Regions from separate parts of the Homo sapiens genome. Here region 1 is linked to region 2. Evidence: promoter capture Hi-C in 16 types of primary human blood cells and fetal thymus (Javierre and others, 2016). All regions are on one chromosome and are shown on one strand. The core of a region is centred on a gene start or on the middle of the fragment in contact, and the rest is flanking DNA. Distances in the headings are between cores, read along the strand shown. Region 1 has its middle 110 kb from the start of MAP3K7. Region 2 holds the start of UBE2J1 (ubiquitin conjugating enzyme E2 J1).

Evidence for each region. Contacts are between HindIII fragments. The CHiCAGO score rates a contact against its expected background, and 5 or more counts as called.
Region 1: a contact is called between a fragment that was not itself captured here and the fragment with the promoter of UBE2J1 in region 2, in 1 of 17 cell types (fetal thymus). The highest score is 5.6, in fetal thymus.

The regions. Positions count from the first base shown.
Region 1 is chr6:90,473,041-90,479,991 of GRCh38, reverse strand. No RefSeq gene overlaps it. Among named protein-coding and RNA genes, the nearest start is that of MAP3K7, 110 kb to the left of the region's middle. RefSeq lists a silencer at 395-504. The HindIII fragment of the contact is 5,588 bases long and covers 1-4,187 here.
Region 2 is chr6:89,347,367-89,354,020 of GRCh38, reverse strand. It overlaps UBE2J1 (ubiquitin conjugating enzyme E2 J1), which reads left to right and starts at 1,299. Exons shown (of 8, transcript NM_016021.3): 1 at 1,299-1,482. The coding sequence starts at 1,452. RefSeq lists silencers at 838-937, 948-1,657, 1,688-1,747 and an enhancer at 1,044-1,993. The HindIII fragment of the contact is 3,504 bases long and covers 1-3,012 here.

The DNA.
Region 1 (6,951 bases), core at 144-2,643, 1.1 Mb before region 2:
CTACTTCCCTGAAATTCAGAAATTAAAAAGAAATGCAAAGAACGTGTGCTTAGAAGCCAGAGAACATGGGGCCAGGGAAGCAGCATGTTAGAAAGAGGAGAACAAGTGGCTCCACATTTCAACCTCCCAGCCATTTACTGAGAGGTACACTTGGGGAATTAACTTCCATTTTTTTTCCTAGAGAAAACAGAAGGTTTAAGCCACTTCCTCCAAGTTATATTGGGAGTTGTCACTCAAAGGAGCCTTCGAACTCCTAGGCTGGTGCTCTTCACTCTATTTTGACTCTCACAAACTTTTCAGTGCTTTGTGGGGGGAATGATGAAATTAAATTAGGAAATTAGCATGCCAAGTTTTCAATAAAATATTCATCTTACTAAATTTTCATGAGGAAGATGCTAGTGCTTAGTGATTGACTGCACAGCTCGGACTACGGGATCCAGGACCCTTCCCAAAGCGAGCCGTACTTTTTTAAACCACTAGATGGCAGTACAAGCACAGCCTTCCAAGGACCCCTTAACGTTGCCTGCTCACAGCAGTGACGGGAGAGTTTTCCTACCCAGGCAGGGTGAGTCACCGCACAGCTCCAGGGTGTGGTGTCACTGTCAGTGTGTTTGGTAATCTGGAGTTTTCTCTGTGCTCTCCAGCCTCACCAGAGGCTGTGTAGTTTTGCTGGGGAGATACCTACTATGGGATCTTGAATATAGTCAATGAGAGAAGAGCTTAACTGGACTCCCCACTGTTTAAATACCAAGTCATTTCCATCCTTATGAATAAGCAGGGCCACTCGGATCCAGAAGGCGACACTCCAGATCTCCTCAACTACAGAAGCAACTCCCCAGGCTGCAAACACTCCAATCCCTTCCGCGTTGTGACCACCTGTAGAGTACGAGCTGTTAAAACGAAACCAGAGACTCAGAGGTAGGGATTTACTGGCAGCAAATTTCTTCCAAAACATGATGTTTAGCACGCATCTCAAAGCATCTTTTAGGATCATCCAGCCTGCTTGCCTCTAGAAAGGAGCACCCTGCACCAATGTTATTAATATTAGTTAATGCACATTGAACACACAGTAAGTGCTACATTATATACTTTATGTAGATTACCTCATTTAATCTCACAATGGCTATGAGAGGTAGGTGTTACGAATGGCCCTATTTTCAAACAAGAAGGCTGAATATTAGAAAGGTGAAGTGACTTGCCCAAGCCCCAGAATTTGAAATCAGGGCTCTCTAATTGAAAGTTAGAATTTGACTCGTGATATTAGTGTTTAGCACATTGTTTAACAGGGCATAGCATCTCACTTCTCCCATCTCTGCCACAGAAGGTTGCACACCCATGTTCTGGTTCAGAATTCTTTGGTGAGGTCAAGCAAGATGGCAGGAGGGAGAGCCTGAGCTGACCCTCCCTACCAGCCTGGGACCTGAATGCAGTTCCTACAGGCCTGGTTCAGCGGAGGTTCAGCTCAACAGCCCCATCCCTAGGGCCAAGGAGGCTTAGCAATCATCAGTTTTGTTCCTGACAAACAGAAGGCTGAGATGGCCCAGATGAAGCGGGGGGAGGGGTGGCTCAGCAACACACCCAGTACATATGCAGCGATTCCTGTGTGCTTGCCTCATCTTAGTGAGTGTCCTAGTCCATTTCGGCTGCTATAACAAAATACCTGAGACTGGGTAATTTATAAAGAAAAGGAATTTATTTCTCCCAGTTCTGGAGGTTAGGAAGTCCAAGATCAAGGTGCTGGCAGGTTCAGTGTCTGATGAAGGCTCATTCCTTCCTCATAGATGAGGCCATCTAGGTGTTGTCACCTGGTGGAAGAGCAACAGAGGAGTCTAAGCTGGCTCCTTCCAACCCTCTTACAAGGCACTAAACCCTTCATGAGGGTGGAGCCCTCACTACTTAAACACTTCCCAAAGGCCCCACCTCTTAAGACAATGCAGTGCAGATTAAGTTTCAACACATGAATTTGGGGGACATTCAGACTATAGCATGAGTTTTATCAAATGTCAACCCCTGTTTCTTCTTTGTGTCTCTGGATTGAAACTTTACTTAGCTCTTAGATTCATTTTGAAGATAACATAGTGCAAGATCGATTATCTTAATTCCACTCATGGAAACACAACCTGGAATTATAAATCTTCCTCTAGGTTTATTTCCCAAATGCTTGTTCATGATGATTCTTTCACTGGTCTGCATCAAAATGAGCACAAAAGAACAATGTGGTAAGTTTTTCATAAAGCTACTTTGAGATTTACAAGATAATTTCTTGTTTTGAGATTCTGTCCTTCCTATTTCTTCATGACTAAAATGTTTCTCTTAGGGAGGAATGGAAGTTGATTTATATCTAATGATGTCCCCTGGCAAGATAAAAACTTGGCAAGCCAATGGCTCTCTCCTGTTTTCGTTTTCTTTTTCTTTTTTTAAGGCAGGGTGTCATTTCGTTGCCCAAGCTGGAATGCCCAGAGTCTTGTTTTGTTGCCCACGCAGTGTGATCACGGCTCACTGCAGCCACAACCTCCAGGCTCAATCAATCCTCCCACCTCAGCCTCCCAAGAAGCTGGGCCTACAGGTGTGTGCCACCACACCTGGCTAATTTTTTCTTTTTTGTAGAGATGGGGTCTCACTATGACTGGTCTCGAATTGTACTCAAGCAATTATTCCACTTTAACCTCCCAAAGTGCTGGTATTACAGGCACTGGGCCTTCTTTTCCTTTTTAAAAAATTTTACAGATCAGAATCTGGGAATCGCAGCTCTGGGCAGTATTCAAACTTCGTTCACCTGAGCACCTAAGAGGTGTTTTATATACTGTCATCTAGTGGTCATCCTAGCTCACCCTCGCCAACTCTTCCCTTTGAGAACACAAATGGTAGGACTATGGAGCCCCGACGTGTGTGTGTGTGTGTGTGTGTGTGTGTGTGTGTGTGTGTGTGTACATTAAGATGCTGACAGCAGAGATGTGTTAGCGTAAAAAAATGCAGGTTTTGAAGATTGCGTAGAAATATTCAGAGTGAACAAACCTCTGGCACCAGACTCATGTGGGCCGAATTGAAAGCAGGTGCGTGGGATTAGCACTCTATTTTTTCCAACACACCTAGAGGGCAGTAGCACAGAGACATTCATGCTCAGGAGTGTTATCAGCTAATAGGACATGAAAAGTTCTAGAGGAAAAGCCTTCAAAACTGCAACCAAATATGTTCACAATTGAACAACAGAAAATACCCCTTCAAACGCTCAGAAGACCCGTCAACCTTTCAAAAATGGGTAAGTATATATTTCTTCAAGAGCCTGGCACCCTAGAGGCAGGAGGGGGGTGGTGCGGGTTTGCAAGTGTCAGGCAGTCCTTGCCTTTTGAGTATCCTCCATGTACACATGGCCTGTCCACTAGTGCTCCCACGTCCACCTCTGTCCTGCCCTCCAAGGCTGCTGCAGTCTCTGCAGCTGTCTCCCCTCGGTCTCCCATTGACATCCTCCTCCCAGCCAGCCGCTCCCCGTCCAGACAAAGGGGACTCCATTTCTCACTGTTAACTTTTTTTTTTTAGGTGGAGTCTCGTTCTGTCGCCCAGGCTGGTGTGCAGTGGCGTGATCTCAGCTCACTGCAACCTCTGCCTCCCAGCTTCAAGCAATTCTCCTGCCTCAGCCTCCTGAGTAGCTGGGATTACAGGCACCTGCCACCACACCCAGCTAATTTTTGTATTTTTAGTAAAGATAGGGTTTTGCCCCGTTGGCCAGGCTTGTCTTGAACTCCTGGCCTCAAGTGATCCAACCACCTCAGCCTCCCAAAGTGCTGGGATTACAGGCGTGAGCCACCACCCCCAGCCCACTTCTGACTGTTTAATAACAAAGCAGAGAGATGGCAAAAAGCCCCAAGGCTGGGGTATACAGGAAACTGGTGGTTGGCTCTTTAGAAGGCCTGCATGTGGACAGCCCTTCTGAAACCCAGAAGACCACATATAAAAGGAATTTCAACCATGTGGTGTTCTGTAATTCACCTGAGTCATCTTCAATTGAAACACAGAGAAGCAGTTTTTGGACCTTGGTGCACAAGCAGGCAGCATATAACTTGCTAGCAGTTATGTTCTGAAATGCCAAGTGTATTGCTACTATTTGAAATTTGAAACACATTCACACTTAAAACCAGTGAATGACAGTGCTTAGGTTCCCAGGCTAGCTCAGGAAATCCCTTTAAGCTTTTCTGTATTTCTGAACTTTGGTTCTGACCTCCTTCCAGCCACCTGAGCTTTCCCTATGCTGGGCAGAGGGTGGGGATGAGGAGGTTCTGCAGAAACTTAATTGTTAATTCTTTTAATGATTCTCCAGTACAGACCCTTAGCACATCAGAAAAAAAAAAAAAAACAGAAGTAAATAAATCTAAATATCATTAATCACATTTGCCAAGGGGATGTGTTCAAAGAATTCTTAGAGAAGGCAGCAGCCAACCGGTACAGAAAGAAATTCCAAGAGTGCAAACAGAATTGTTATGACGCCCTGGCTCTCCTGGGCTTCTGGACACCAGGATTTACTTTTACTTGTTTCAGTTTTCTCCTTGACTGTCTGCCAGTCAGACTGTATGCTCCAGGACAGCTCTGCACCCCTATGGGTGTGGCTCATAGTAGGTACACAATAAGCATCTAATGTACCGAACTGCCAAAACCAGACATAATCTATTCCTTTCATTCATTCTATTTACATTAATCAAGTGCCTACTATGAAGAAGGTTTGTGCCAAGTACTAGGATCAACAGTGAGCAAGGCAGATCAAGTCCATGCTTTCATAGCTTGTCTAGGCTGAATATTGAGTCCTCCAAAGATGTTTATATCTCAATCCCCAGAACCTCTGAATATGTTAGCTTACATGGCAAAAGGGATTTTGCAAGTGTGATTGGGTTAAGGATCTTGAGATGAGACAATTATCCTGGATTATCCAGGCAGGCCTGATGTAATCACAAAGATTCTTCTGAGAGGGAGGCAGGAATATGGGTTAGAGAGCTGAGGACCACGATCCAAGGAATACAGGCAGCCTGTAGCCCCTGGGAAAGGCCAGGACACAGATTCTCCTCTGGAGCCTCCAGAAGGAACACAGCCCTGCTAACACCTTGATTTTGACCCAGTAAAACTGATCTTGGAATTCCAACTTCCAGAACCGTAAGATAGTGAATTTGTGTGAACCATAAGATAGTGAATTTGTGTGTACTTAAAGTCACTGTGTTTATGGTAACTTGTTACGACAGCAATACGAAATGAATACAAGCTGAATGTAGCTTTAGTTTATGAAACATCTTGCCTCATGTTTAACAGACATTTAAAAAGTCCCTATACAATGTGATAATGGAAGAAATATAGAGTGCCATTAGCTCATTCACCTTATTATGGCTTCGCAGACTGGCTTAATAATTTATTCTTCTCTTTGCCAATCAGAGTACCTACCTATCTGAGGCTATACCTTCCTTGGGTAGCAGGAATCCTATTTGTAGCTTCCAGTGCCAGGGCCTGAGGCTGCAAATACTTATGGAAGTCATTGGGTAATGAATCCTTCACCATCGTGACAGTTTGTACTTAGGAGGAATGTTGTTCCTTAATTTTCAGTCAAGTTCAACTTGGTTTTCCAGTCATGGCACCTTTAAGAAATAGAGGGGAGCTCTTATTTGCATCCCCTTTTTCCAAAGGGGAAACTGAGGCAGCAATCTCAAGTTTCCTTCACCACCCAGTAGCAAGAATATGAGCTCAGCTCTTTGACACCTAAAACAAGGGTGTTCCTCTGGCCTCTACTTATTGTTTCCCAAGGTAATAAGGAGGCAAGAGAAAAGGATTACACTTATAGGAGGAAGGAGATTATCAGGGTACCAGAGGGAGAGGAGAGGAATTTAGGGGAAAAAAACTAATACGAAATAAGAGAGACCTCCGTTTTAAAACTTAAAACCTGGGGGAAAATTTGACAACTGGATGCATTTCATTTTGAAACTTACTTAACCCTAAAAGTCAAAATGAAACTCCAGGGGTGCAAACCCACAACAATCAAAATAAAAACAAGTTTTTACAAGCCTGCTGCAAAGCTAAATATAGATTTTCAGCTAGACCTACTCACCTCCAAGTTCATGACTTTGAACGATTTCAAACGTTATTTCAAAAAAGAATGTCAAACAAAAGAAAAGTAGTTTTATGTAGGAGGTGGAGGACAGGCTGTATAAATATGTGGGAGGTGGATCTCCAAACCGTCGTGATGTTTTCAAATACCATTTGTGGTCACTACACTGGTAATATTTTCTAACTGTGGTCAAAACAAGCTGACTAAAGGTTCATGTATTTGCTGCAGAAGGAAATGTTACTGTCATGTGCCACTGCCTTAGTGCACAGGTGCCTTCTGTCATCTCCTTTATGACCTGGTTTGCTGGTGCATTTGGATGGAACTCTCTTCATTCTGATATGATAAAAAGCAAAATTAAAATTGGAAACCAGGCTGTGCGCGGTGGCTCACACCTGTAATCCCAGCACTTTGGGAGGCTGAGACGGGCAGATCACCTGAGGTCAGGAGTTCGAGTCCAGTCTGGCCAATATGGTGAAACCCTGTCTCTACTAAAAGTACACACACACACACACACACACACACACACACACACACACAAAGAAGCTCAGTGTGGTATCAGGTGCCTGTAATCCCAGCTACTTACTCGGGAGGCTGAGGCAGGAGAACTGCTTGAACCTAGGAGGTGATGGTTGCAGTGAGCCGAGATCACACCACTGCACTCCAGCCTAGGTGACAGAGGAAGACTCCATCTCTAAAATAAAATAAAATAAAAAGGAAACCGAAGTCCTCTGACTTCAGCTGGGAACACTAGGGCCCTTTCCTTTTTCTACTCATCCCACAGCACCTCTGGGCTGAGCAGAAGGAAGAGGGAGGGTTCAGGACTGACAAAGATGAAGGCGTCTCTAAAACACCCTGTGCCCTTGTGCAATCTG
Region 2 (6,654 bases), core at 50-2,549:
GATATCCTTCACTTTTTTACTCCCAATTTCATCAAGAAACTCACAGATTTAGATTAACTTTAACAATAGAAAACAAATCAAATTTAAGAGTTTATGTCTTTATATAACAGAATAAAACTTGCCCAACCTGATTAACCCTTTCTATCCTCCCCACCTTCCCAATCCCTCCCTCCTTTCCTTTAGTAAGGTCCCTACTCCTTAAGTCTTTTGAACTCAGTCCTCTCTCGATCCCACACATTGGACAATGAAGCAGTAAGTGTGTCCTTTGAAGTTTAACCTTTCATATTTGTATGCTTTCCCTCACATTAAATGTAATTCCTTTTTTTGACAGCTTTTACATCTAAACAAACCAAAAAAAACAAAACTCCTGCAATGCCTAAAACATGTCGTGCACCTAACACACTACCCGAGAAAAAAATTGTTATGAATATCCAACTCTGGCCAGAGCCGTGGCTCACGCCTGTAACCCCAGCACTTTGGAAGGCCGAGGCGGGCGGATCGCTTGAGTCCAGGAGTTCGAGACGAGCCTGGCCAACACGGTGAAACCGTGTCTCTAACAAAAATACAAAAAATTAACCGGGCATGGTGGCACACACCTGTGGTCCCAGCCACGCTGGAGGCTGAGGTGGGAGGATCGCTTGGGCCCGGGAGGTAGAGGCTGCAGTGAGCCAAGATCGCGCCACTGCATCCCAGCCTGGGCGACAGAGCGGTGACACCGTCACACACACACACAAAATAAAAAATAAAAAAAATCCTATTCCATTTCCTTGTCACTGGCTTTCCCCCTCCTCACTTAACCCCCGCCCCTCGCAACAGCAACTGAATCTAAAAACAAAGCCTTTCCCAGACCCTGCGGGACCGCGCGCGGGCAGCCGGCTGCGGACAGCTTTGCAGCCGGAGCCCGGCGCCCCCTCCGAGCTCTCGAGGGCCCGGGGGTCCCGGACCTCGCCTACAGCGGGCAGGGCCGGGACGAGAGGACGAGGACGCCGCTCGCTCCTGCACCTCCCCAAGCCGGCTTCGCCGGGCGGGCGGCGGCTGGGTAGTGACCGACCGCCACGAAGCTACTGCCACGTCAGGGCAACTTCACAAATCCCGGACGAGGGCGGGTGACGCAAGCCGGGCGGCCGCGGCAGGGCTGGGCCTGCGACTACCCGAGGAGGCTGACCTCCAGCCCGGGCGCCCGGTTCAGCGCCGCCCCGGCCGGCGCCGGTGCCTGCCAGGCACTCAGGGAGGCGGGGGCGCAGTGGAGGAGGCGGCGCCATCGCGAAGCGAGCGCCTCGCCCGCACTCAGCCTTGCCACCCCGCCCGCAGTCCAGGCTGGACTGGGCGGCATTTGCCGAGGCTCCTCGGCCAGGCCCCGTCCGCCCGAGCCGCGCTGAGACCCGGGCAGCGGCCGCGTGGAGAGGAGGTGGCAGCGGCCCGGGAGGCCGGAGCCAAGCCAGCGACCCACCATGGAGACCCGCTACAACCTGAAGAGTCCGGGTGAGCAGGGCTGGGGCCCCTGGGCGAGGAGGGCGGAGTGACCCTGGACCCCGGGGTGGTCGCCGCCTCGGTCCCCTCGCGTCTGGCGCCACTCGCGGCTCAGCTCCTGGTTTCGCGCTCTACGCGAGACCGCCGCCTGCCCGGGAAGTACAGGCCGCAGGGCGAGGTGGCCGGGTGGACGTCCGCTGCCAATCCCCCGGCCGGCCAGCGCGCCCCGCAGCACCCAGCCTCTCCCTTTTCTCATCTTCGCCTGGTCCCGTAGAGCTGGGTCAGAAACTCATCCCTGAGAACAGGTGTAAAGGTGATGTCGGTGGGCGATAGTCATCAACCCCCTCGCTGTACCTGGTCGCTATTCCCTCCCTGTCGCTGCCACCGGACTTCTATTTACTTCTATTTACTGCCGGCTGATTTACTCACATTTGAGGAGTTGGTCGTTTAAATATCCTATTTGCAGCACTTGGGCGAATACAATTACAGACATAAAGGAAATGTTCTGTAACTAAACCAGTTAACTATAGAGCTAAAGCAAAACAAAACAACAACAAAAAAACACCTCGTTGAGCCCTGTTCTTGAGAGCTAACCTTGATTTTTGCCAGACTGGCTAATATGAAATGTATCTGTATTCAGTCGTAGCGATTCCTTTCCTGCATTTAATGATCCTGCTTTATATTTACACAAGCAGTCCCAGCAATCCTAGCCTCTAATTACTTTCTGGTGCATTATAAAGATAAGCAACTAGCTTTCTCAGCTTAATAAAACAGGCTTGAAATGAATCATTGGATCCTCTAAATGGTATTTTTTCTATCTGTACCTTGATACATTTTGTCAGGGGGAAGAAACTCCACAGTTAACTCTGCATGATAAACTCTAGGATATTAGTGATGATTTCACCAACTTTTGCTGTTGCTTAAAATTTCCTTCCAAAAAAAGCTGTTTCTCAGTAGGAATTAGCAAGACTAGCATCCTTGTGGAAAGAGTTGACACTGTGAATCTTTGGGTTTTTTGTAAGGTTTCAGAATATGCAAAAACCCCAGAAAAGCCTGAGGATATTGATTGGAGGGAGCTTTGTTAGCCTGAGTGCTGTCAGGCTAAGAAATGTCCTTAGGTGACCAAGTGTGTAGAACTGGTCATAATATTTTAGGAGCCACTGACTCCTTAAAAAAATCTGATGAAGACCTGGCACGGTGGCACACGCTTGTAATCCCAGCACTTTGGGAGGCTTGAGCCCAGGAGGTGGAGAGCAGCCTGGCCAACATGGTGAAACCCCGTCTCTACTAAAAACACAAAAATCAGCCGGGCATGGTGGTGGCGCACTCCTGTAGTTCCAGCCACTCGGGAGGCTGAGGCAGGAGGATGGCTTGACCCGGGGAGGAGGTTGCAGTGAGCCGAGATCGCGCCACTGCACTCCAGTGTGGGCGACAGAGCGAGACTCCATCTCAAAAAAAAAAAAAAAAAAAAAAAAAAAAAAGAGAATCCCGGGGTGGGGAGGGAGGAAGAAAAGACCAAAGAGAAAGAGGGAAAGAAAAGCTTAATTTTTAAGCTAGATGGTAAAATGATTGAATTATTTACATTGTGGTATATTTAACTGGAGCTGTTTGGGTAAAAATGTATGGTGGCTCCCTGGTCACACGGTTCCTTAGGACAGCAGAGGTGCTTAGTGAAAGGTCCAGAGGATAATGCACATGTGAGTAGTAGTGCAGTTTAGAATGGAGAACTGGTGGAACCCAAGAGATTGTTGTCAGAAAACATCGCTCAATTTCGATAGGTTAGACTTAATACTATGATGATAAGCTTTTAAAAATCTCCAGAATTTTGTATATTTCCAAAGTATGTGAACTATTGTCAGCTGGTTGAGCTTTGGTTGACATGCTTCTAGCTGTGTCATAAATTGCTTCCTTTTTCTGGTTTCATTTCCTCAAAGATAGTGTTGCTGCTCTAAAAAAAAAAACACAATGCTTCTTAAAAATCTATTTTTGTTAGTGTGTGAATTATTTGGAGTTCATGGAGAAGTTGAATTAGGTAAGATATGGGACTTACTGAAAATGCTGGGAGGCATTGTGAAAATACTTCCTTCCTTTGCTTTATTCTCAGTCCTGTGGTATTTTTAGAGTAATGCCTGTGTGAAGGGGAGCAACTGAAAACTCCAATTTCCTGTGTATGGCAGGGTGCACACACACACACACGTAAAATACCAACATACCAGACAAACAAAAAACAACCACACAATGTGAGGGATATAATCTTTTACTCTTTATCTGATGTGGGATTGTCTTTGATGTATGAGTGGAAAGATTAAGTGAAGACAATACAGATAGCTGGTTAAGGGCCAGTGTACTAGCATGTGGATATAGTAAATTTTTTCATTTCATAGGTGGGGAAACTTTTTGCTTTATGGTTTTTTTTTGGAATGGACTTGTGATTATGGATAGAGCTGTTGTGTAGGATCACCTCACAGTAGTTGTCTGTGGTAGTTGTCAGTAGTTGTCTATGGATCTGCTACTGTAGTAGCAGTAGTTGTCTATGGATCATGCTACTTGTCTATAATCTGTCAATAGTTGTCTATGGATCAAGCTACTTGACCCGTGTTTGGGTCTGCTCTGGCCAAGGAAGTAGGGTCTTATAGTACAAAGTGAAGAAATGTGTATAAAGCACCTCCTTTGGCAGCTTCTTCATCAGGGGGCCATTGACATGTGCAGCAGGTGGTGGGAGTATAAGAGACTGGTGCAAAAGTACCCACTGCCTCCACCAGAAGTCTAAGAGTTACCTATCCATGCCATTGGTGTCAACTGCACCTTCCCACTAATCCACTCAAGGTTTCATGTCCAACTCAGGCCCTTCTCGTAAGCTATAGATACACAGAACTTATGGTGACTCAACATCTTCATTTCCCATAGAGTGAAAAAAATCTCTGTAAGTATAAAGACAAAACTCATCAGTTTTCTTCTCCTCCCCTAAACTTGCAGTTTACCCTAGTATTTCATATCTCAGGGATAGACAGCACTCAGGCACCTATGGGAGTCATTTTTTATTTCTTGGTCGCTTCCTTGCTCCATCCCTGCCCTGAAACACACAACTCAATACACACACAGAAACACATATATCTAATCAGTCACTGTTGTCACCAGATCAATCAAAACAAAAACTGATTACCCCCAAATTGAAAAATTTTCAGTAGCTTTCTGATAGCTGTCAATAAAGTTCAAAGTAAACTGCTTAGCTTGGCCTACAGGGCTGCTCATGATTGACCCTGCCCTTCCTCACCAGCCTCACTGTCCACCACTCTTATGCTCTTCCTCATTTTCTTTTTTTTTGAGGCAGGGTCTCCCAGCCTGGAGTGCAGTGGTGCCATCACAGCTCACTACAGCCTCAACCTCCTGGGCTGAAGTGATTCTTCCACCTCTGCCTCCCGAGTAGCAGGGACCACAGGTGTGTGCCACCACACCCAGCTAATTTGTGTATTTTTTGTAGAGACGAGGGTTTCACCATGTTGCCCAGGCTGGTCTCAAACGCCTGAGCTCAAGTGTTCCCTCCACCTTGGCTTCCCAAAGTGGTGAGATTACAGGTGAGAGCCACTGCACCAGGCCTGCGTTTTTACCTATCCATTTTGCCTGAATGACTCTCTAGCTGGAGTAGCTTTTCTCACTTAGGTGCTTTGGTTCCTGTTGGAACCTCTGCTTAGAATGCCTTCCTTTAAATCCATCTGAAATTCCTATAGTTCTTCAAGCTTTAAGGTTCAGCCTTGTCTAGCTCCCCTAGGCAGACTAAAGTAGTTCCTATATATACTTGTACATATATACTTGGTCAATATTACCACTTGGTTGTAATTATTTTCATGTCTTTCTCTACTGACTGTTACGGAAGACAAGAAGCAGGTCTTGGTCATTGTTTTATCTCCAACACTCAGACATTCTTTAAATGTTTGTTGAACTGATACATTTGCAGGGTCCTCCTGGGCAGAAACATCACTCTGTAGGCATTTGCTTAAGTACCTTCATTATGGGAGCAGGAAGAGGCAGTTAGGGAGCATGCCTTCCTTAATATACCTGTCTCCTGCATTTCACTCATGCTTTGGGAATTGATAATATCAAGATAATTGCTTTTGAAGAGGAATCCATATATGGGAAGCAGTGGCCTGTAGAAGATCCCTTTATTTTTAGCTGTATACAAACCCCAATGTGAGGCTAGTGAGCTAGCCAAGGTGTGTGAAGAATGCTAATGCCTAGGCCCACAGCACCTAGAGCATGGCTCCAGAGTGTCCATGTGGCCTCTATAAGAAAGAAGAACAAGAGCAGGCATCCAGGTGCCACCCCTTCCTTTCCTGGCACATCTTATCTCACCACAGTGAAAGGATTCCATGGAAAAACCTTTCCAAGAGATAGGAGAGGAGCTGGAATAAAAGTTTCCTCTCTAGCCATGTAGAAGCAAGAGATGGAGTATCAGGAGGGGCAGACTATGCTGTAGCCCGGTTGCCAGGCAGCACTGTGAACCATGACTGTTTCCTAACAGTGGTATTTCTCCTCAGGAGCCAGGGAGCCATATCATAAGGCCAGCGAAATCTGCTGAGGCATGGTTTTGAGTTAGGAAGAATCATTGAGAAGGCCTTATATACCAGTCCATTTTCAACCTTAATGACTCAGGGACTGGGCAGGAAGGAGGGGTGAAAAGGAAAGGAGAATTTTGTGGAGAAATTATTGACTCTTATTTGACAGATGTAAACATCAGATCAAGTGACTTGTTCAAGGACTTAGAGCTACAAAATGTCAGAGTCAGAATTTTAATGCAGCTCTAAATCGAGTCCCTGTTTCTTTTCACTGAAGCATTCATAATATATGTTATTTTTGCAAAAAAAATAGCTTATGGAAACAAGAGACTAATCTCACCTTTTGGCTACATGACCTTAGCTCTTACATGGTATGTGCCTGAGTGACTTATGAACTAATTAGCTATTTAGCTGTTGAACCAATGATTGTTCCTTTACAGGATTGGTACAGATACATTCTTATAACAATTCTGACCCTTTATACATCTCTCATAATATCCAGGTACAAGTTTTGAGTGTTTATTTTCTTCTCTCCTGTTGAACTGAACTGAGTAGGGAAGAGGCAGAGAAAATGCGATAAGGGTATAGAATGACATAAAATCTGACTTCAGCTTAATCATTATTGAGTTCA